Linked DNA regions of Homo sapiens: all the other regions are linked to region 3. Evidence: promoter capture Hi-C in 16 types of primary human blood cells and fetal thymus (Javierre and others, 2016). All regions are on one chromosome and are shown on one strand. Each heading gives the region's core, a stretch centred on a gene start or on the middle of the fragment in contact. The rest is flanking DNA. Distances are from core to core; before and after follow the strand shown.

Region 1 (2,700 bases), core at 101-2,600, 280 kb before region 3:
TAAATGGAGACCCCTTGGTTAAGCTCATTTAATCACCTGTCTGGATGAATTGTCAGAAGGAGCCCCCGCCCTGGCAGCTGACCCCCTCCCCAAGTTGCACGGTGATCCTTGCTTTGCAAACTCAAGGCTAGTAAGTCCTTGGAGGAGGCTGGAGGCTGGGATACAATCCCGGCTATGAAGGCAGGGCTGGCTGGAGATCATTCATTCATATACTCATTCACTGAAAAAATGTGAAAACCACTCAAAACCTCTGAGAAATTAAAGTTGGTTTTCATAGGTCTGCTTCCCTCTGGCCTTCTGCTCACCTGGCATAACCTGTGCATGCTACATACTTATTTGAACAGGGGTATGTAGGAGAGGAAGGATGAAAGAGTGAAACAAAATATTGTCAACATCTGCCTTGTGACTTAGAAAATAAATATGATGCCATGCCCTTAAGGGATTCTTCTGAGAAAAATGAAGTTATTGCACAAAGAAACAGATTCTTAGAAAGACTGAAAAATTTGCTTGTACTTCTAAAACTGTTGAGTATGACTAAGAAATGAGATGCCCCATCACACTGCCATTTAGGACGGGTTCCAAAACGTTTCCCTGACTCAGGGCCATATTTTGGTAAAGAGAATGAAGAGAATGAGTCTGGTTTACCATGTGATTCCTTTACTCAATCTTCCATTCACACACACACACACACACACACACACACACACACACACACACGCACCAACTATTAGCAACATCATGAATTCCTTCACTTCTCCTGTTTGGCTTCTCTATTTATTTATTTATTATTTTATTTATTTTTGAGATGGAGTATTGCTCTGTCACCCAGTCTGGAGTGCAATGGCGCGAGCTCAGCTCACTGTAACCTCCGCCTCCCAGGTTCAAGCAGTTTTTGTGCCTCAGCCTCCCAAGTGGCTGGGATTACAGGTGCCTGCCACCACGCCCAGCTAATTTTTTTTTTTTCCAGTAGAGACAGGGTTTCACCATGATCCACCCGCCTTGGCTTCCCAAAGTACTGGGATTATCAGTGTGAGCCACCACGCCTGGCTTTTAATATTTTTTTCGAAAAGGTCTTGACTCTGTCACCCAGACTGGAGCTCAGTGGCACAATCTCAGCTCACTGCAGCCTTGACCTCCCAGGCTCAAGTGTTCCTCCCACCTCAGCCTCCCCAGTAGCTGGGACTACAGGCAAGCACCACCACACCCAGCTAACTTTTGTATTTTTTGTAGAGATGGGGTTTCACCATGATGGCCAGGCTGGCCTTGAATTCCTGGGCCTGAGCCATCCTCCCACCTTGGCCTCCCAAAGTGCTAGGATTACAGGCATAAGCCACCATGCCTGGCCTCTGTCTTAATTCATTAAGTTTTAGGCTTTTCAGCTAACCTGTAGATTATCTAACACAGTGAAGGGGTTTTCTCTTTTATTACCCAGAGCACTTGGTGCAGGAGCCAGTTCTACCTCCAGGTGTGGTTTGTTGGGAAAGGATTCAGATAAGAAGTGATGCTTGAGCTGAATCTTAAAGGAGGTGTTTTCCAGGTAAAGGAGGCAGGGAAAGAAAACCCAGGGGGAGTATGGAGGTGATAAAGAGGCTAGTGGAAGGTGCAGGTGCATAGTCTGGCTGTGCTAGTGCCAGGGCATGGGTGATGGGTCCCACCTGGAAAGAAGGCTAGACTTGGAGTTGGGAACCAGGTACCAAGTGCCTTACGGCCCCTGCAGGTATGTCCTGAGCCCAACCAGGATTGTTTGGAAGATTTTAAGCCGAGGGTGAGAGGTAGGATGGATTCAGATTTGGGGACCTGAGTGGGGAACCTGATCAGATTTGCTTTTTGGAAAGTGACTGTGACAGATACGTGAGCCATGGGCAAGTCTTCAACCTGAGCCTCAGTTTCCTCATTTCTCAAGCAGGAACAATAGATGTGCGTGAAGACTGGAAGCGATAATGTATGTGAAAAGTGGTATATGTCAACTATTATTACATGACTTTGAGTCACGAATGAGCTAACATGCTTACGTTCTCAAGAAGAGATCAGTTTCGTCATCTGCTTGGTATTGTTTCTTGATTTATACAGCTGTTTCCTCAAGCATTTTTCTTTAAATGGGAGCAGCTATTACTATTTTTTGTCTGTTTCAGCTTCAACTCTGTTACAAATTGGAAGGAACGAGTTGTTGAACATTGATCGTAGAAAAGGAAAAGAAAGTTTTTATTTTTTGCCTTGTTGTGCATTCATTCTTTCAAAAGCTGTTTAGAGGAAAAAACATTTTCTATCTTCTCATAGTAGTAAGTAGCAACTCAGGTGCCTGAAGACCCCATCATATTTTACTAAAACTCTCCACTCCAAAAGAGCATCAGTTGTGTGTAGGTGAATAGAAAGCTGGTGTGTAGGCCGGGCACGGTGGCTCACACCTGTAATCCCAGCACTTTGGGAGGCCAAGGCGGGTGGATCACCTGAGGTCAGGAGTTTGAGACCAGCCTGGCCAAAATGGCGAAACCGTGTCTCTACTAAAAACACAAAAATTAGCCTGGCATGGTGGCACGCACCTGTAGTCCCTAAGCTACTGCAGAGGCTGAGGCGGGAGAGTCGCTTGAACCTGGGAGGCAGAGATTGCAGTGAGCCGAGATCGCGCCACCGCACTCCAGCCTGGGTGACAGAGCGAGACTCTGTCTTAAAAACAAAAACAAACAAAAAAGAAACCTGGTA
Region 2 (2,700 bases), core at 55-2,554, 260 kb before region 3:
GGCGGGCAGCCTAGGAATGCAAAAGTGGAAAACATTGATTAAAAGATCACAGAAAGCACTCTGCCTTTCTTCAGCTGTGTTTCAGAGGCCAAAACTGTGGTCCCGCTGGGAGCAGCCTGAGCGTCCCTGCACGAGGCCCACAGCTGACGTTCACGGACGTGCTCGCAGCAAGCATGACCCAAAGTGGACTGCAGAGCACAAGCCAAAACCACATAATCTGGAAAAGATCTTTGACTGGGTCTTTGTTCTTCTGTGTCTGGATCCGTCTTCACAATGACAGAAATAACAGAAGCAACAACAAGAAGCAGGGCAGGCACAGATGTTCAGCGTCAGTCTGGAATCATACGGAACCCAGGAACACTTGGATGTGAGAACCCAGCACCAAAACTGGGCTCACGGATCAACAAAAATAACCCGGGCCTCACCGACCAAAATCAAGTAGAATAGCGGTTGGGTCAAAGGAGAGAAAAATAGGCTTGGTTGCTAACCAAACATTCGAGTTTTGCCAAAGGTTTAATTATCAAAAGACTAGAAGGCACCGTAACATCTAACACCTTTCTCAAAAAGAAATTAAATGTAGTCATCAATAGCAGAGGGTTCCATCCACATGTTGATGGAGCTAACCGAGGGAGCCCATCTATCTCCAGAGTGAGGATGTAAAACGAGGGAAGAGCGCTCAGGGCGGCCAGCAGGCTTCCCTGAAGGAAATGTTTTGCATTGTGTTTGTCTTCTGAGGGCTGGCTCCTATAAATAAACAAGTGCAAGAGCCAGGTGCAGTGGCTCCCACCTGGAATCCCAGCACTTTGCAAGACTGAGGCAGGAGGGTTGCTTGAGGCCAGGAGTTCAAGACCAGCCTGGGCAACATAGCAAGACCCTGTCTCTACAAAAAGGAAAATAAAAAATTAGCCAGGTGTGGTGGCATACCCCTGTGGTCCCAGCTACGCAGGAGTCTGAGTGGGAAGATCACCTAAGCCCAGGAGGTCAAAGCTGCAGTGAGCTATGTTTGCACTACTTCACTTCGTCATTCCAGCCTGGGTGACAGAGTGAGACCCTGTCCCATACATACACACATAATACATAAAACAAATGAGCACTAGAGAACCCAATGGCGTTTAGAGAGAAACACATGCCTGGTATGGAGGCCTGTTCTGGCAGCAGGGCTCCTGTGCCAGCCCCTATGATGCCTTTGCTGTTAAATAATATGCAGCGGGGGACAAGACGTGGTGGCTCACACCTGTAATCCCAGCACTTTGGGAGACTAAGGTAGGTGGATCACTTGAGGCCAGGAGTTTGAGACCAGCCTGGCCAACACGGTGAAACCCCCTCTCTACTAAAAATACAAAAATTAGCTGGCTGTGGGGGCACACGCTTGTAGTCCCAGCTACCTGGGAGGCTAAGGCAGGAGAATCACTTGAACCCGGGATGTGGAGGTTGCAGTGAGCCGAGATCACGCCACTGCACTCCAGCCTGGGCAACAGAGTGAGACCCTGTCTCAAAACAAAAACAAAAACAAAAATAACATGGGTGGGGCCACACACTGGGGGTTGGCTCAGTCTCAAGCACATGCACTGCCCTGTCCCCCTGGCTGGAGGGAGGGCTTGGACTTACCATTGTCCTCCGGTGCTGGGGTTGGCTCATTCTGCAGGGCCAGGGGCACCACCGCTCCTGATGGGCCAGGAGGGCCGGGGGGGCCCTTGGGGCCTGGCATGCCTGGTACCCCAGGCAAGCCTGGCAGTCCCCGAGGTCCAGGCACCCCAGGCTCCCCAACGGTGCCCTGAAGTCCCTGGAAGCCAGGAGGGCCCTGAGGGCCGGGGAGTCCCTCTTTGCCTGGTGGGCCCGGGGGGCCTGGGTCCCCACTGGAGCCCTGAGGGCCGGGCTTCCCAGGGGAACCACGGGAGCCTTTGGGGCCCTGGGAGCCTTTAGATCCTTTGCCGCCACGCTCTCCGGGGGGACCAGCTGGTCCAATTGGGCCTCTCTCACCCGCAGGGCCAGGTGGTCCAGGCTCCCCCTTCTCTCCTTTCTGTCCCTTGTTGCCAGTTGGGCCAGGGGGTCCCTGGGATCCTCTGTCACCTCTTGGACCCCTGGGGCCCGGTGGACCTAAAGCATAAAAGAAAAAGGTGTCAACATGAAATCCACTGTGAATGATAGTTATGAATAATTTTTCTTCTTATAAAATCTCCAAATTAAAAAAACCTAGCATACAAAGTATATACAGCAGGGAAAGACCATCTGTTTATCATACTACTGTAGACTGTTATGGGCTAAATTATGTCCTCCTCCAAATTCTTATGCTGAAGTCCTAACCCCCAGCACCTCAGGATGGGACTTATTAAGAGACACGGCCTTTACAGAGGTCATCGAGTTAAAACGAGGTGACATGAGTGACCCTAATCCAATAGGACTGGTGTACTTAAAGAAGAGGGGATTAGGTCACAGACACATAGAGGAAAGATCGCTTGAGGGCACAGGGAGAAGATGGACTCCTGCAAACCAAGGAGGGAGGCCTCGGAGGAAACAACACTGCTGACACCTTGATCTTGGACTTGCGGCCTCCAGAACCGTAAGGAAAGAAATGTCTGTTGTTTAAGCCTCCCAGTCCGTGTACTGTGTACTGTGTATATGGCAGCCCAAGCAAGCCAATATACTGTGTGTTCTTCAGTAAGCTCACCCTTCTTCTTCAAGCTTTTAGAATGTATTGTA
Region 3 (2,700 bases), core at 171-2,670:
CATCAAGGCAACCCACACTCATTTGGATGTGTGCATCTGGTGATGTTATTATTTTTAAAGTTATGTGCCACAAAGATGCATTCTTTGCTATACAAAAGAGCTGTTGTTAAATTTATAAAGATATAAAAAGGGGAAAGGGGAAGGCACCAAATGGAAGATTCTTAGGCATTAAGTGCTCAGACAGCATAGATCTTCATTAGATGACGTCAGGGAGAAGAGACACAGACTTTGCCATCTCAGGTAGAAGTATCAAAGTCATCAGCCTCCTAGTAAGACAGACCTGGGTTTGAAGCTCTGCACAGCCATTTCCTAGCTGGTCTGGGGAAAAATTACTTCTTGAAGCCTCAGTGTCTTTATTTGTAAAGTAAGTGGAATTATATTACCTTGTCAGGATGTTGTCAGAATTAGAAATAATTTAAAGAGGTCCAGCACGAGCAGGTCAATCAAGGGAAGATGTTAAAAATAACAACAGGTGAAATGTACTCCCAAAAGATAAAGTGGATACATAGATGAATCTTCCTCACACACAGAGTATAATAACCTCAGAAAAATATTGCCTAGAGTAAACATGCCTCCCAAGCCAACGTTCATCATCCAGGAATACGGAGAGGATGTTTGGGATATGGGGGGCATGAAATTTTACAATTGTAGGGCCCTTTAACAAGGGTAGACTTGCAAGTTGCACTGCCTTTCCTGCCCTCTCTGGCTACCTGTTCCAGCATCCAGAGTTTGTGAACCTGGGGCCCAAGGACAGCACCTGGCATGGGCAGGCCCACTTGGCGACTCTCTCAGGGCTGCTGCAGCTGTGTCAGTGTCCCCACAGGGAGGCTGACATCCAGCCATGACCATCGCATTAAGCCCAGCAGTCGGGCAGGGGAGCAACTGCTCAGAGGCACCTTTGACCCACTACTTTTTTCCCCTCCTGCTTTATCTGCCCAGAGCGAGGCTCTCTTTCTAATGTGTACAAGGCGTTCTACCTATGACTCGTGGTCCTGCCATAGAAATGCTTTTTTTTTTTTAACTGAATTAAGTTGCCAAGTTTGAAAAATCAGGAATTTCACATAAGCATCCCTATTTCTGTCTTCTTTTGAAAAACTGAATGTTCTTTCCACAGTGAGCCCACATTCCTTCCTGACGACCATCACCGTTCAGCTGGAGTAGAGAGGGCTCTGCTCGCTTCAGATCCGGACGCGCAGGTCCTCTGCAGGCCCCGCCCACCCGGCGTCACCTGCAGGTCCCGCCCACCCGGCGTCTGCAGGCCCCGCCCACCCGGCGTCACCTGCAGGCCCCGCCCACCCGGCGTCTGCAGGCCCCGCCCACCCGGCGTCACCTGCAGGCCCCGCCCACCCGGCGTCTGCAGGCCCCGCCCACCCGGCGTCACCTGCAGGCCCCGCCCACCCGGCGTCTGCAGGCCCCGCCCACCCTGCGTCACCTGCAGGCCCGGGCCGCGGGGTTGGTTTCCACCCTGGAGGTTGCTGACACCCTGTGCCCTCGGCTGACTTCCAGCCGGTGGCACAGACGCCTCCAGGGGGCAGCACTCAAGCGCATCTTAGGAATGACAGGTGAGAACATCCTCCGGGCCCCAGATTTCTCTCCTCGCCGCTCTTGCCCATTTCTCCGGAGAGCCAGAGAAAGCCGCTCCCAAGTCCAAGGCCGAGCTCCGCAGACGCCCGGCCCCTCCGGCGCGGACAGAACAAAGCCACTGTTCTTGCCGGGGAAGGTAGAAATACTGTGGGCTGCTTCAGAGGCTGCCAGCAAAACTCAGGCAATCTCCTGGGCTGTTCCAATACGTTTATTCTCTTTTTCAAAACAGGAGGAGGAGGTAGAGGCGGGGAGACACACCATCCCTGCAAAACTACTGGCAAAAACTAAGCGGAGCCGGGTGTGGTGGCTCACGCCTGTAATCTCAACACTTTGGGAGGCCGAGGGGGGCCGATCACTTGAGGTCAGGAGTTGGAGGCCAGCCTGGCCGGCATGGTGAAACACAAAAATTAGTCGATTGTGGTGGTGCATGCTTGTAATCCCATCTACTTGGGAGGCTGAGGCAGGAGAATCGCTTGAACCCGGGAGGCGGAGGTTGCAGTGAGCCGAGATTGCGCCACTGCACTCCAGCCTGGACAACACAGTGAGATTCTGTCTCAAAATAAATAAATAAATAAACCCAAGCAGAAAAAGAATCACTCTGAAAACGATCACATCTAACTATCAATGCTCATACAGTTTATGGAATTATCAGCCCAACTTGATAAAATCAGTATTTGAGGAAACTGTGGATAAGCCCCCTGATTTCAATCCCCATTGTGCCAGGTCCTGGTTAACTGAGGTTAACGAAGTAAAGAGCTGCAGACACTATTAACTGCTACCTTAAACCGATTACTCTAGCTTAGCCTACTTTCCACGTACAGATTTTACCAGTGGACAACATGATGCTTTATCTTGTTTTTCTCTCCCTGGGACTTTTCTCCAGACATTGAAAACAGAAATACTAATAAGGCCACTTTTACCTGCCTGATGCAAGAACAGAATTTTCAAACTCAACATTAATGCAACTCCTCAGTCCCTGACAATGGCGGGTGGAAAAGTTTCTAAAAATATGCAGCAGCACAATTATCGGGAAGAGATGAGATACTGTTACCTAATAAAAATGCCATAAATAGAGAATGATGAACTACCATGGGAAATGAATGCATAGAAGAGGAC
Region 4 (2,700 bases), core at 82-2,581, 320 kb before region 3:
TATACAGCCTCATTGGCTGTAAGTCACATGGCTAGAGAAAGCTAAGTTTGGAATTTGAGCCTAGCTGTCATCCCAAAGCCTGTATTTTTCTTAAGTCTTAACTCTTGAATCTTTACCATGGGCCTATTCAATGTTTCAGAAATTATTTCCTTACAATTGGATAAGGGCGAGGACCATAGTGTCATTAATAACAAAACATAGGCCCGGTGCGGTGGCTCACGCCTGTAATCCCACTACTTTGGGAGGCCGAGCCAGCTGGATCACCTGAGGTCGGGAGTTTGAGACCAGCCTGGCCAATATGGTGAAACCCCATCTCTACTAAAAATACAAAAATCAGCCAGGCATGGTGGCAGGCACCTGTAATCCCAGCTACTCGGGAGGCTGAGTCAGGAGAATCGCTTGAACCCGGGAGGCGGAGGTTTCAGCGAGCCAAGATCCTGCCATTGCACTCCAGCCTGGGCAACAAGAGCAAAACTCCATCTCAAAAAAAAAAAAAAAAAAAAAGAGTTTTTTGTTTTTTGTTTTTTTGTTTGTTTGTTTGTTTGTTTTTAAGTGGGTAATAACATCCAGAGGGCAGACATCCAGGAACATGTAACCTTTTCACTTATATTTACTGAGCACCTGTTTTTCCTCATGCTAGCTGGTGAAGTAAGATGGACGAAGGACTGCCTCTCTGTTAGGAAATAACTTGCATGGGAGAATCTAGGATGGATGGTTTAGATCAGTTCTAGGCATTCACATCTTCATTCCTCTTTTTTTTCCTTAGTGTGGCCTTACTTGAGTTCAGTTTACCATTGGAATGGTAAGATCTGGGAGGAAAGGACTAAGGATGCAGTTTAATCTGCTTTTCTTCTAGTTCTTATCCTGACTATTGTCTAGGCAGAAGGAAGCTTTTTGCTCCATGCTTACTGGTCGGCCACATTAGGATGTTGGATTGCAGGTTTGCCTTTTTCAGCATTTGGGCCCCAGCCATCTCTCCCTTTCTCTCATTTGTAGTTTAAGTGGATTGAAATAATTATATTTATTTAAAGGGAACTGATGTTTGAGTGGCAAAGTTGAATAAAAAGAATGAGACTCCTGCATTGTGAGAGGAATGGAACTGAGAAGAATAAAAATGAAAAAAATGGCCGGGCACAGTGAGTCACACCTGTAATCCCAGCACTTTGGGAGGCCAAGGTGGGTGGATCACTTGAGGCCAGGAGTTTGAGACCAGCCTGACCAAGATGGTGTAACCCTATCTCTACTAAAAATACAAAAAATTAGCTGGGTGTGTTGGCCGCGCCTGTAATCCTAGCTACCCAGAAGGCTGAGGCAGGAGAAGCGCTGGAACGTGGGAGGTGGAGGTTTCAGTGAGCAGAGATCGTGCTACTGCACTCTAGCCTGGGTGACAGAGTGTGACTCTATCTCAAAAAAAAAAAGGAAAAGGACGGCCCTTTATACTCTAGAGCTTAAATTTTCTTGGAAAAAGAGTAATTTTCATGAAAGCTATGTAGGGAGGCTGTATTTTTATAGCATAGTGGCAATTTTCAAGCATTTTATATTGTTGATATTGTACTGTTTGTTCAATATATTGAGTGCTTACTATCTGCCAGGCAAAGGTATAATATTATTGAAATATATATGTAGCACTATTTTATTATATTGCAGGTACTGTATATATCATTATCTAGCATATATTGTAAAATCCTGTTTGGTGGGCTCAGTTGGACCACATAATGAGCATAATTCAAGGTGAGAGATGGAATAGTGGGTCAGTTTTTGCCCGGGCATGCCAAGCTTCCCTGCAGGGTTAGTCAAGGGATTTGCCTGAAATTCTACCATTGTTTGGCTTGTTCCCCTTTCCTGTCCTGTTTTTCTCTCTCCCTGAGAGTATTATCTTAACAAATCATTTGCTTATGAATTATCACCTCAGGATTTGCTTCTGAAGATCCGGATTGTGTTCGTTTGGGTCTACATAGAAGCAGACACAGATACATTACACCATACATTGGATGTGCAAGAGATTTACTAAGGAGAGAGCAAGAGCAGGGAGGGAGAACTTGCAGACAGCAGTGCAGGTCTGACACTCACAGGAGGAGAAAAGGAAGGAATGTGGATTGGGTAAGAAGTTTCTGGGTACAGTGCAATTCCAAGAAAGGGTTGGCTTTGCAAAGAGTCCTGCAGTTTGTCAGAATGGGCCTGTACTAGTACCTTTGCCATCCTCATTCATTGACTGGGACCCTCAGAAAGCATGGCCTTGGTGCAAATGTGGTGGTTGATCCAGAGGGTAGCAGCTTGAGCTGTCAGTCAACTGTGGTCCCCGCAGCTGAAGATCTGAGTAGAGCATTATCATGGCCACCACACTGCCCTAAGATACTAATCATGTAGTAATTTTTTATTTGTATTCAGAAAATATTTTCTTTGTTTATTCTCAACAAATATATGTGAACCTAGCACTGTGAACAAAGAAGAGTTACTACCCTAATGAGGCCTTTATTCTGTGTGGGAGCAGGGTTATTTATTTATTTATTTTTGAGACGGAGTCTCGCTCTGTCGCCCAGGCTGGAGTGCAGTGGTATGATCTTGGCTCACTGCAACCTTGGCCTCCCGGGTTCAAGTGATTCTCGTGCCTCAGCCTCCTGAATAGCTGGGACTACCGGCACACAGCACCATGCCCAGCTAATTTTTGTATTTTTAGTAGAGATGGGGTTTCGCCATGTT
Region 5 (2,700 bases), core at 79-2,578, 300 kb before region 3:
CCTTGAGGGTGGGTCGTTTGTCTGTCTTTTTCACTGTCGTTTTCTTAGTATCTATAATAGTGCGTGGCACATAGAAGGTGTTCAGTAAATATTTCCTGACTGTAGGAGTTGATGAATGAAGAAATACTTGGTTCTAGTACATTGTTATAGGCAAATGCAAGCCCTGAACTCTGGGGGGCAGTAACATTGTCAGATGGTCATCCAGAGGCTTAAACAATGTGTTAATATTGCTGATACAGTGTTCTGAGAAATTAATTATTGATTGATTTCTCTCTGTGATTTTCTTCTACAGCTCTTCCCTTTCTTCCTGCCCCAGCCACTCAAGCAGGTGCTTGGGTTCTATGCTGATGACCTTGTTGGAGAGATGTGATTGGTCAGAAAAGCAGCAACTGGGCTGGGCACGGTGGCTCACACCTGTAATCCCAGCACTTTGGGAGGCCAAGGTGGACAGATCATTTGAGCCCAGGAGTTCAAGACCAGCTTGGGCAACATGGCAAAACCCCCGTCTCTACAAAAAAAAACACAAAAACTAGCCAGGCATTGTGGTATGCCCCTGAAGTCCCAGCTACTTGGCAGGCTGAGGCAGGAGGACGGCTTAAGCCCAGAGGTGGAGATTGCAGTGAACCGAGATCACGACACTGTACTCCAGCCTGGGTGACAGAGCGAGACCCCATCTCAAAAAATAAATAAATAAAAGTAATTAAAAAAAAGAAGGAAAGAAAAAAGAAAAGCAGCTGTTGCTCGCAAGCTTCTTGGTTTGTGTTCCCTAAATTTCCAGATGATAGGGGCATTTCAGAGTACACCCTTCTTCAGTGTGTTGGTTATCTTCCATTCCTGCCTCCACACCTACTCTGCATCTCCACCCTTATCTGTGCCCCTGAGGGCTGACCTGTATGAATTGCATAATTGGGCCCTCTTGCCTTTTGGCTTCTGCTTAGATTTGGTCAGCGGGAGGCACTAGGCTGAGGTTGGAGGGCCACATCTCAGGGGCCACTTGTTTAGACAGATGTCATCCCTCCCACACCACACCCCCACGTCCTTTGGTGTTGAGCTCTGTGAAAGGCCATGAAATTGGGACAAAACCCTGGAGATGTGGGGTGAGGGGAAGAAAGAGACCTGAGGTTAAGTTGCCTGTCCTCCTGGTAGAATGGTAGACTCAAAATTAGAAATTAAGTTTAATTATAGAAAATTATGTATTTACATATATAGATGTGCACGCTGGGATTCATACCTTCCATGGTTTTGTTTTAAAGGTTATCATTGCAATGGAAATCCAAAACGTAAGAACTGTCGTAGTGATCTCAATGGGCTCCACCCATGAATCCAATCTGAGAAACACTACACTACATTATGCGAAACTTTGGGTTATAGCATTCTAAAAGCTGGTTTCTTGTGAGCATGAATAAAAGTTGTGATTAAAAGTTACACTCTGGGAGGCAGCAAAACATAGTGGATAAGAATAAGAAATCTGGACTCAAAATCCAGCTTTGCTACTTACCAGCACTATGATTTTCAGTGAGTTGCTTAATCTCTCTGTGCATGTTTCCTCACTTGTAAAACAACACAAAATTTTGAGGATTAAGTAAGATAATATGTGAAAATGACTTAGAATGGTGCGTATGATCTGCTCCCAATAACTGCTTTTATAATTATTATTACTATGACTTCAGTAGTCATTCAAGTGTTCCTTTATTTCACTAATGTTTACTTACCACAAACGCTGCAACGTGCAGCAGGAGGTATTCACGCAGACATGAATAAAGCATTCATCTGCTTCTAAGCAGCTGGTTACCTGTTCACCAAAAAATCTATTCCTTCTTTTTCTTGGGCATGTAGCTAGACTACATTTCTAGCACCCTTGCAGGTAGGCATAGCACATAAATGAGTTCTAGCCAATGGTTTGTCAGTAGAAGCTTTTTATATGTCACTTTTGAGCCAGGGTTTTAAAGAGGCACATATGCCCTCTTCATCCTCATTCTCTTTCTAGATTCTTGATGCAGAAGATGACAAAGCCCTGAGAAATGACAGAACCTGGGTTCCTGAATCACTATGTGGAAGAGAGCTGTCAAGCAACTAGGAATATCTACCTCACACTGAATTAGGGCAAGAAGTAAACTTCTATTTGTCTTTGAACCTTATATACTATTATAAGGGTCTGTTTGTTATAGCAACTAGTATCATCCTAATTACTGCCTTCTTCTTCTAATTGATGGAACCATGATGGAAAGGGTACATACATTGCAATCACGGATGCTGTCTATTTGGATTCAAATTTTTAGGAGAGTGGGGAAGAAGCTAGAAAAATGGGATCCTTCTACATCTTGTCTTTTTATTGAAGTCAGACCCCTTTCAGATCCTCCTGATCTCACCATTGTGTCTCACCCTGGCCAGTATTTTCCCCGACCTTTCCTTCATCATTTTCTTTGTTTTTAAGGCTCCCAGACAGCAGCCTCCTCGGTTCAACCATGAATGGCATCCGCTAAAAGTGCTGACCCCTCTTTAATATCTGGGTCATGCTTTGTGTGTCTTTTTGCATTAGTGTGATGAAAAGGACTTCCTTTGGTTCCTTTCCCAAATGATCAATTGGTAATTTGTACAGTAGGTTGAAAGGTTGATCCTGCAAAAGTTCATAAATAACATGACTTATTAATCAAAGAAATTTCATAATACACAAGGCATTTACAGTTTCTTTTAAAATAA
Region 6 (2,700 bases), core at 104-2,603, 280 kb after region 3:
CTGGGGCTTTCAAATTTTGCCTAATTGGGTTATGTATGGAACCAACATTCTTGGGGAAAACAAGAGTAATTCATTTAACTCTCACAATAATCCCATGAGATAGGTATGGAGAATGAGGAAAATGAATTTCAAAGAGGTTAAGTAACTTGTCCAAGAGCAATTAGAGGGACCATAATGGAACTGGGATTCAAATATAAGCCTGTTAGACCACCTGAAACCCAAGAAAATTTCTCCACTATATGTGCCATCATCAACGGGGAACAAAAATAGTTTCTCTGTTAGAACATTGTAGCTATTGTAGCATGAAAGGACAAATCAAGGTTTTCTTCACTTTTATTTTCTGCCAAAACTCTCAGCTCATTACATCTGTGGAACTTTGTTTTTTCTAGTGAGGGGTGAAGCAGCCAAAATAAAAAACAATCGTTATGAAAAAATATCTTTAGAGTTTCCCTAAGGGAGAACATAGGTTAGAGAGAAAATCCTGTGACTGCTAAGAGCCAGGGGTCTGTGCATGCACCTGTCCCCCATCCAAAAGGATGATCTAATGGGAAAAGCACGTTTGTTCAGTGAGAGCAGAGAGTAGAGTTGAGAAGGGTCCCAGAGTTCTGCTTCCCCTCCCTGGGTTCTATATGTGTGTTTGTGCATGTGTGTAGCATAATAAATTCGACTCTAGGTAGGCTAGTGGTGTGTGAGTGCTTCCTTTCCCAAGTAAGGCTGGGGGACACCCAAGCTTTGCAGAGAAGCCCCCTCCCACCAAAGCTTGGCATGGCAGTGGCAAATGCCTGTGAGAGTGGTGGCCTAGGCAGGGTGCCTGGGTCTTGTTCCCCACACTGCCCACCACCAGTCATGGCGAGTGGGACAGGAGAGCACTGGAAAGTTTCTCGTGCTCTCAAGAGAGGCTCAAGATTGGCTGAGAGAAGCCGGATGGAGTAGAAGTGGCTGCCAATCACGATGAAGGGGAGCCGTCAGCAGATGCTGCATGGCCCATTTGAAAGAGAAACCACAGCTGGCATAGATGCCCCTCACTAAAGACCCAGCAAGGTGAGTACTAGCTCTGTGGAGGCCCTGGAGGGTGGAGAGCCATCAAGAACCAGATGCCGCTGGCCCTGGGGGCTCATGCCTGCAATCCCAGTACTTTGGGAGGCAGAAGCGTTGGAGACTAGGGGCTCATTTGAGCCCAGAAATTTGAGACCAGCCTGGACAACACAGTGAGACCCTGTCTCTTAAAAAAAAAAATTAGCCAGGTGTGGCGGCACATGCCTGTAGTCCAAGCTACTCAGGAGGCTGAAGCGGAAGAATCGCTTCAGCCTGGGAGGTCAAGGCTGCAGCGAGCTGTGATTGCATCATTGCCCTCCAGCCTGGGTGACAGAGCAGGACCGTCTCTCAAAAAAACCAAAAACCAAAAAACAAAAAACAAAAAACAAGAACAACAACAAAAAACCCCAGTTGCTTCTCCCACTCAAATATAGGCACTTCCACAAGCTCTCTAAAACTCATACCTTTAGGTTAAAGTGGAACATAAGGTCCTTGGATTTTCCTGGGAAAAAAATTCTGACTTAACTAATAACATCAATTTTTTTGTAATGATTGATTTGACTGAGTTTACCTAGAAATTATTAGATTAAACTTTCGCTAATAGTAATGGAAGCTCAGGGAAACAATTAAATCCTGTTATAAGAAAATAAAAATACGGTTTTACTCACTTTAGTCATTGACTATAAAAACCCATTCCCCTGTATATAATAACGCAAAACACATCCCAATATGTTCTGCCTGCCTCCGTGTTTTCCCACAGTTTTCCATTGGTTTCTTTCTTATTTCCTCCCACACAGGCTGAATTGCTAGGCTGTCCCTGTCAGCTTTCTTGGATTTAAAGGTCAGGAGCTCCAGGGGATCTCGAAGGTGTCAGATTGTTAGTTATTATTGTAATAACTGTTCAGTTAACTAAAAGCTTTATGAATTTGCATATTGAAAAGTTTCAGATGGTTGCTATTTATTTTAGCTTGCTCCTTTTGCAATAAAAGCTTTCTATTTAATTATTAATTTGGCTGTTATTCCTGGCAATTCTTGGCTATAAATAAATGTTTTCAAAACACTATCCAAAAACCACTAAGGGTTTTTTCCTAGTGGTAGAGCTGTTCTATTTGAGATTCGGATGCTGTAAGTAGTGTTTAACAATGAATAAATACTACTGATATAAATTAAATTTAAATAATAGTTTCTTCATGATTTTGGGAGGGCTGGGAGCATTGTGTATATAATAGTTTAATATAATAATAATATTATAATAATAGTTTCTTCATGATTTTGGAAGTGACTGCATTGATAGTTTAGACAAAACTTGTGATGTCTTAACTGTAATTGGAGGACCAAAAGAATTCTGTTATTTAAATAACTGTTGGAGATTGTAATGACTGGTTTTATGTGTCAATTTGGATAGGCTATAGTGCCTAATTGTTCAATCAAACACTAATCTAAGTGTTGCTGTGAAGGTATTTTGTAAATATGGTTAACAGCTACAATTAATTGAGTTTAAGTAAAGGAGACTATTCTTGTGTGTGGGCCTCATTCGATCTGTTGAAAGCCGAAGAGCAAAGTCAAGGTTTCTCTGAGAAAGAAGAAATCCTGCCTCAAGGCTGTGGCATTAGCTCCTCCCTCATCGTCTGCAGCCTGCTAGCCTGCCCTATGGATTTCGAACTT
Region 7 (2,700 bases), core at 141-2,640, 340 kb before region 3:
AGATTATCTCTGTAAATCAAAAAGCTTAGGCTCTGAAAACTCACCACGTTGTTGGAGCTTCCTCGTCTCCCATTTCGCCTTCTTCTACATCCATTCCTTCTTCTCTATCTTCAGTGTGCTAAATTGAAAAAAAAATGTATAGCCTGTCATGAAGCAGTCATCAGACAGAAGAGATAAATGCTAGAATAAGTGGTCAGTTACACATTCCTAGGCAACCCACAGTTAGAGAAGTCTAGTCACTAACTATCTAGACCTATAGTTAATCTGTAAGGCAATCAGAATTTTACCTGATGGACAGAAGAACTCAAGAGCAGTATGACAATGATATAACACAGTCATGAAGACAGTAGAAAGTTTCAAATCTACATTTCTAAACATAATCAATAGATTCCCTCTGGGAATAAAGGGCTAAATGTTTTGGAAATGCACAAGACAATTCAACAATAAAATGAGCAAACAGCATGAATAGCTAATTCACAGAAGAAAAATAAATTCCAACCAACATATAATAAGTTCCTCAACACCAATAATGATCAAGGAAATGAAATTAAAACTAAGAAGACTTATTTTTCAAATATATACATCAATTAAGCCAATATTTTTTAAAAATTGATAATTCACACTGTTGGGGTGAGGCTGTGGGGAAAAAGGGCAGGCATTCTCCATGTGCCACTGGTGGCTGTATAAATTGGTATAACCTTTTTGAGAAGTAACCAGGCAATAGCTATTGAAATATGGAATATGCATATATTTTAACCCAGTAATTTTACTTACTGGAATTTATCCTAAAAAGACATCTGCATAATTGATGCAGACGCTGCAGACTGATGCAATATTATACACTACTAGACACTGTAACATTGTTTTTCACTATCAGAGATAATCTGAATGTCCACAGGCAGAGAAATGTGATATATCCACTCTGAGATTTATCAAGAGCCATTTAAAAACTAAGATAAAACTAAATCTTAAAGGAAGAAAGTGAATTTCAGAATAGTATGAATGACCTCATTCTGGAGAAAAACAACATGTTTGTACATATACACAAAAAGTCCTGGTATGGTGAGACAGAGAATGTTATGAGTGGTTATAGAAATAATATGAATTTATAGAAAAAATACATATTCTGCAAAAAATAACCCAATGTTTAAAACAGAAAGTACATCTATTCTATAATCTACCTTATGATTAACACTATTAAAACAGAAAGTATAGCTACTTTGTTAATCCACTTTAATAGAAAGCTATGCCATAATCTACCATGGTCTACCTTGGATTACAGAATAACTGTACATTCTATCTTAAACACTGGTTGAATTTTTTACATACAAAACATTATTTCTGTAAGTTGGAAATAAAGTTAAAAGTTTTTAAATTTTTGATGACTTGTAGGCCCATTTACATGAAATTTTTTTTTTTTTTTTTTTTTTAAATGAGACAGGTTCTCACTCTGTCGCCCAGGCTGGAGTACAGTGGCATGATCAAGGCTCACTGCAGCTTGACCTCCCTGGGCTGAGGCGATTCTCCCACCTCAGCCTCTCGAGTAGCTGGGACCACAGGCGTGCACCACCATGCCCTGCTAATTTTTGTACTTTTTTGTAGGAATGAGGATTTGCCATGTTGTCCAGGCTGGTCTTGAACTCCTAGGCTCAAGCGATCTGCCCACCTCAGCCTCCCAAAGTGCTAGGATTACAAGTGTGAGCCACTGTGCCTGGACCCACTATCTTAATAACAAACTTGCAAATATGTTATCTGAGAAGATTTCAAATCAGCCTCACCTTCTGACCCAGGGTGCTTTCCTGCTCATTTGTATTGAAAACAGTGACATTTTCCAGATTAAACTGACTCTGCAAGTTAAGACCTAGTAAAAAAACAAAAAAAAGATGCAAAGCAAGTCCAGTGACACCTAAACTTATGTATAACTTGTGTCATAATCAAAACTACAAAATGCCAAATCCATAAAGAGCAGTCAAAATTAACACATTTGATTTTCAAATCCTTTCAAAAATTCATTTCTTAAAAGTACCTTTGGAGTATGGGCATACCTTGTTTTGTTGTTCTTCACAGTTTCTTGTTTTTTTAAATAAATTGAATGGCAACCCTGCATCGTGCAAGTCTATCAGCACCATTTTTCCAACAGCATATGCTCACTTCCTCTGTCACATTTTGGTAATTCTCACAATATTTCAAACTTTTTCATTATTATTATATCTGTTATGATGATCTGTGATCAGTGATCTTTGAGGTTAACATTGTCATTGTTTTGCCACAGATTTGTTTTTGCCACAAACTGTGCCCATCTAAGATCTAAGACAGTAAACTATTTTTTTTTTTTTTTGAGACAGCGACTCACTCCTGTCACCCAGGCTGCAGTGCAGTGGCATGATCATGGCTCACTGCAAGTTCAGCTTCCCAAGCTCAGATGATCCTCCCACCTCAGCCTCCTGAGTAGCTGGGACTACAGGCAAGCACCACCATGCCTGGCTAAATTTTTTTGTATTTTTAGTAGAGACGGGCTTTTGCCATGTTGCCTAAGCTAGTAAGATAGCAAATTCAATCAATAAATGCTGTGTGTGTTCTGACTGCTTCACCGACCAACCGTTCCCATGACTCTCTCTCTCTCCTTGGGCCTCCTTATTCCCTGAGACGAGACAATATTGAATTTAGGCCAACTAATAATCCTGCAATGGATTCTAAGTG

The links. The method cuts DNA at HindIII sites, captures the fragments that hold promoters and counts their contacts. A CHiCAGO score of 5 or more calls a contact.
Region 1: a contact is called between a fragment that was not itself captured here and the fragment with the promoter of CLUL1 in region 3, in 5 of 17 cell types (M2 macrophages, M0 macrophages, M1 macrophages and 2 more). The highest score is 17.6, in M2 macrophages.
Region 2: a contact is called between a fragment that was not itself captured here and the fragment with the promoter of CLUL1 in region 3, in 5 of 17 cell types (M2 macrophages, monocytes, M0 macrophages and 2 more). The highest score is 14.5, in M2 macrophages.
Region 4: a contact is called between a fragment that was not itself captured here and the fragment with the promoter of CLUL1 in region 3, in 7 of 17 cell types (M2 macrophages, M0 macrophages, M1 macrophages and 4 more). The highest score is 16.4, in M2 macrophages.
Region 5: a fragment that was not itself captured here is called in contact with the fragment with the promoter of CLUL1 in region 3 in 9 of 17 cell types (M2 macrophages, M0 macrophages, M1 macrophages and 6 more); the score reaches 38.4 in M2 macrophages.
Region 6: a fragment that was not itself captured here is called in contact with the fragment with the promoter of CLUL1 in region 3 in 1 of 17 cell types (activated CD4 T cells); the score reaches 5.1 in activated CD4 T cells.
Region 7: a fragment that was not itself captured here is called in contact with the fragment with the promoter of CLUL1 in region 3 in 4 of 17 cell types (M2 macrophages, M0 macrophages, monocytes and 1 more); the score reaches 11.9 in M2 macrophages.

The regions. Positions count from the first base shown.
Region 1 is chr18:314,559-317,258 of GRCh38, forward strand. It overlaps COLEC12 (collectin subfamily member 12), which reads right to left. Exons shown (of 10, transcript NM_130386.3): 10 at 2,179-2,700. Among named protein-coding and RNA genes, the nearest start is that of THOC1, 48 kb to the left of the region's middle. The HindIII fragment of the contact is 2,946 bases long and covers 1-2,700 here.
Region 2 is chr18:333,134-335,833 of GRCh38, forward strand. It overlaps COLEC12 (collectin subfamily member 12), which reads right to left. Exons shown (of 10, transcript NM_130386.3): 6 at 1,609-2,097; 7 at 1-10. Among named protein-coding and RNA genes, the nearest start is that of THOC1, 66 kb to the left of the region's middle. The HindIII fragment of the contact is 2,752 bases long and covers 1-2,680 here.
Region 3 is chr18:595,568-598,267 of GRCh38, forward strand. It overlaps CLUL1 (clusterin like 1), which reads left to right and starts at 1,421. Exons shown (of 10, transcript NM_001393344.1): 1 at 1,421-1,562. RefSeq lists silencers at 1,170-1,299, 1,360-1,479 and an enhancer at 1,902-2,401. The HindIII fragment of the contact is 7,229 bases long and covers 1-2,700 here.
Region 4 is chr18:270,760-273,459 of GRCh38, forward strand. No RefSeq gene overlaps it. Among named protein-coding and RNA genes, the nearest start is that of THOC1, 4.1 kb to the left of the region's middle. The HindIII fragment of the contact is 886 bases long and covers 889-1,774 here.
Region 5 is chr18:292,302-295,001 of GRCh38, forward strand. No RefSeq gene overlaps it. Among named protein-coding and RNA genes, the nearest start is that of THOC1, 26 kb to the left of the region's middle. The HindIII fragment of the contact is 1,165 bases long and covers 747-1,911 here.
Region 6 is chr18:876,107-878,806 of GRCh38, forward strand. No RefSeq gene overlaps it. Among named protein-coding and RNA genes, the nearest start is that of ADCYAP1, 27 kb to the right of the region's middle. The HindIII fragment of the contact is 1,192 bases long and covers 758-1,949 here.
Region 7 is chr18:252,495-255,194 of GRCh38, forward strand. It overlaps THOC1 (THO complex subunit 1), which reads right to left. Exons shown (of 21, transcript NM_005131.3): 8 at 1,779-1,861; 9 at 45-118. Among named protein-coding and RNA genes, the nearest start is that of THOC1, 14 kb to the right of the region's middle. The HindIII fragment of the contact is 2,736 bases long and covers 23-2,700 here.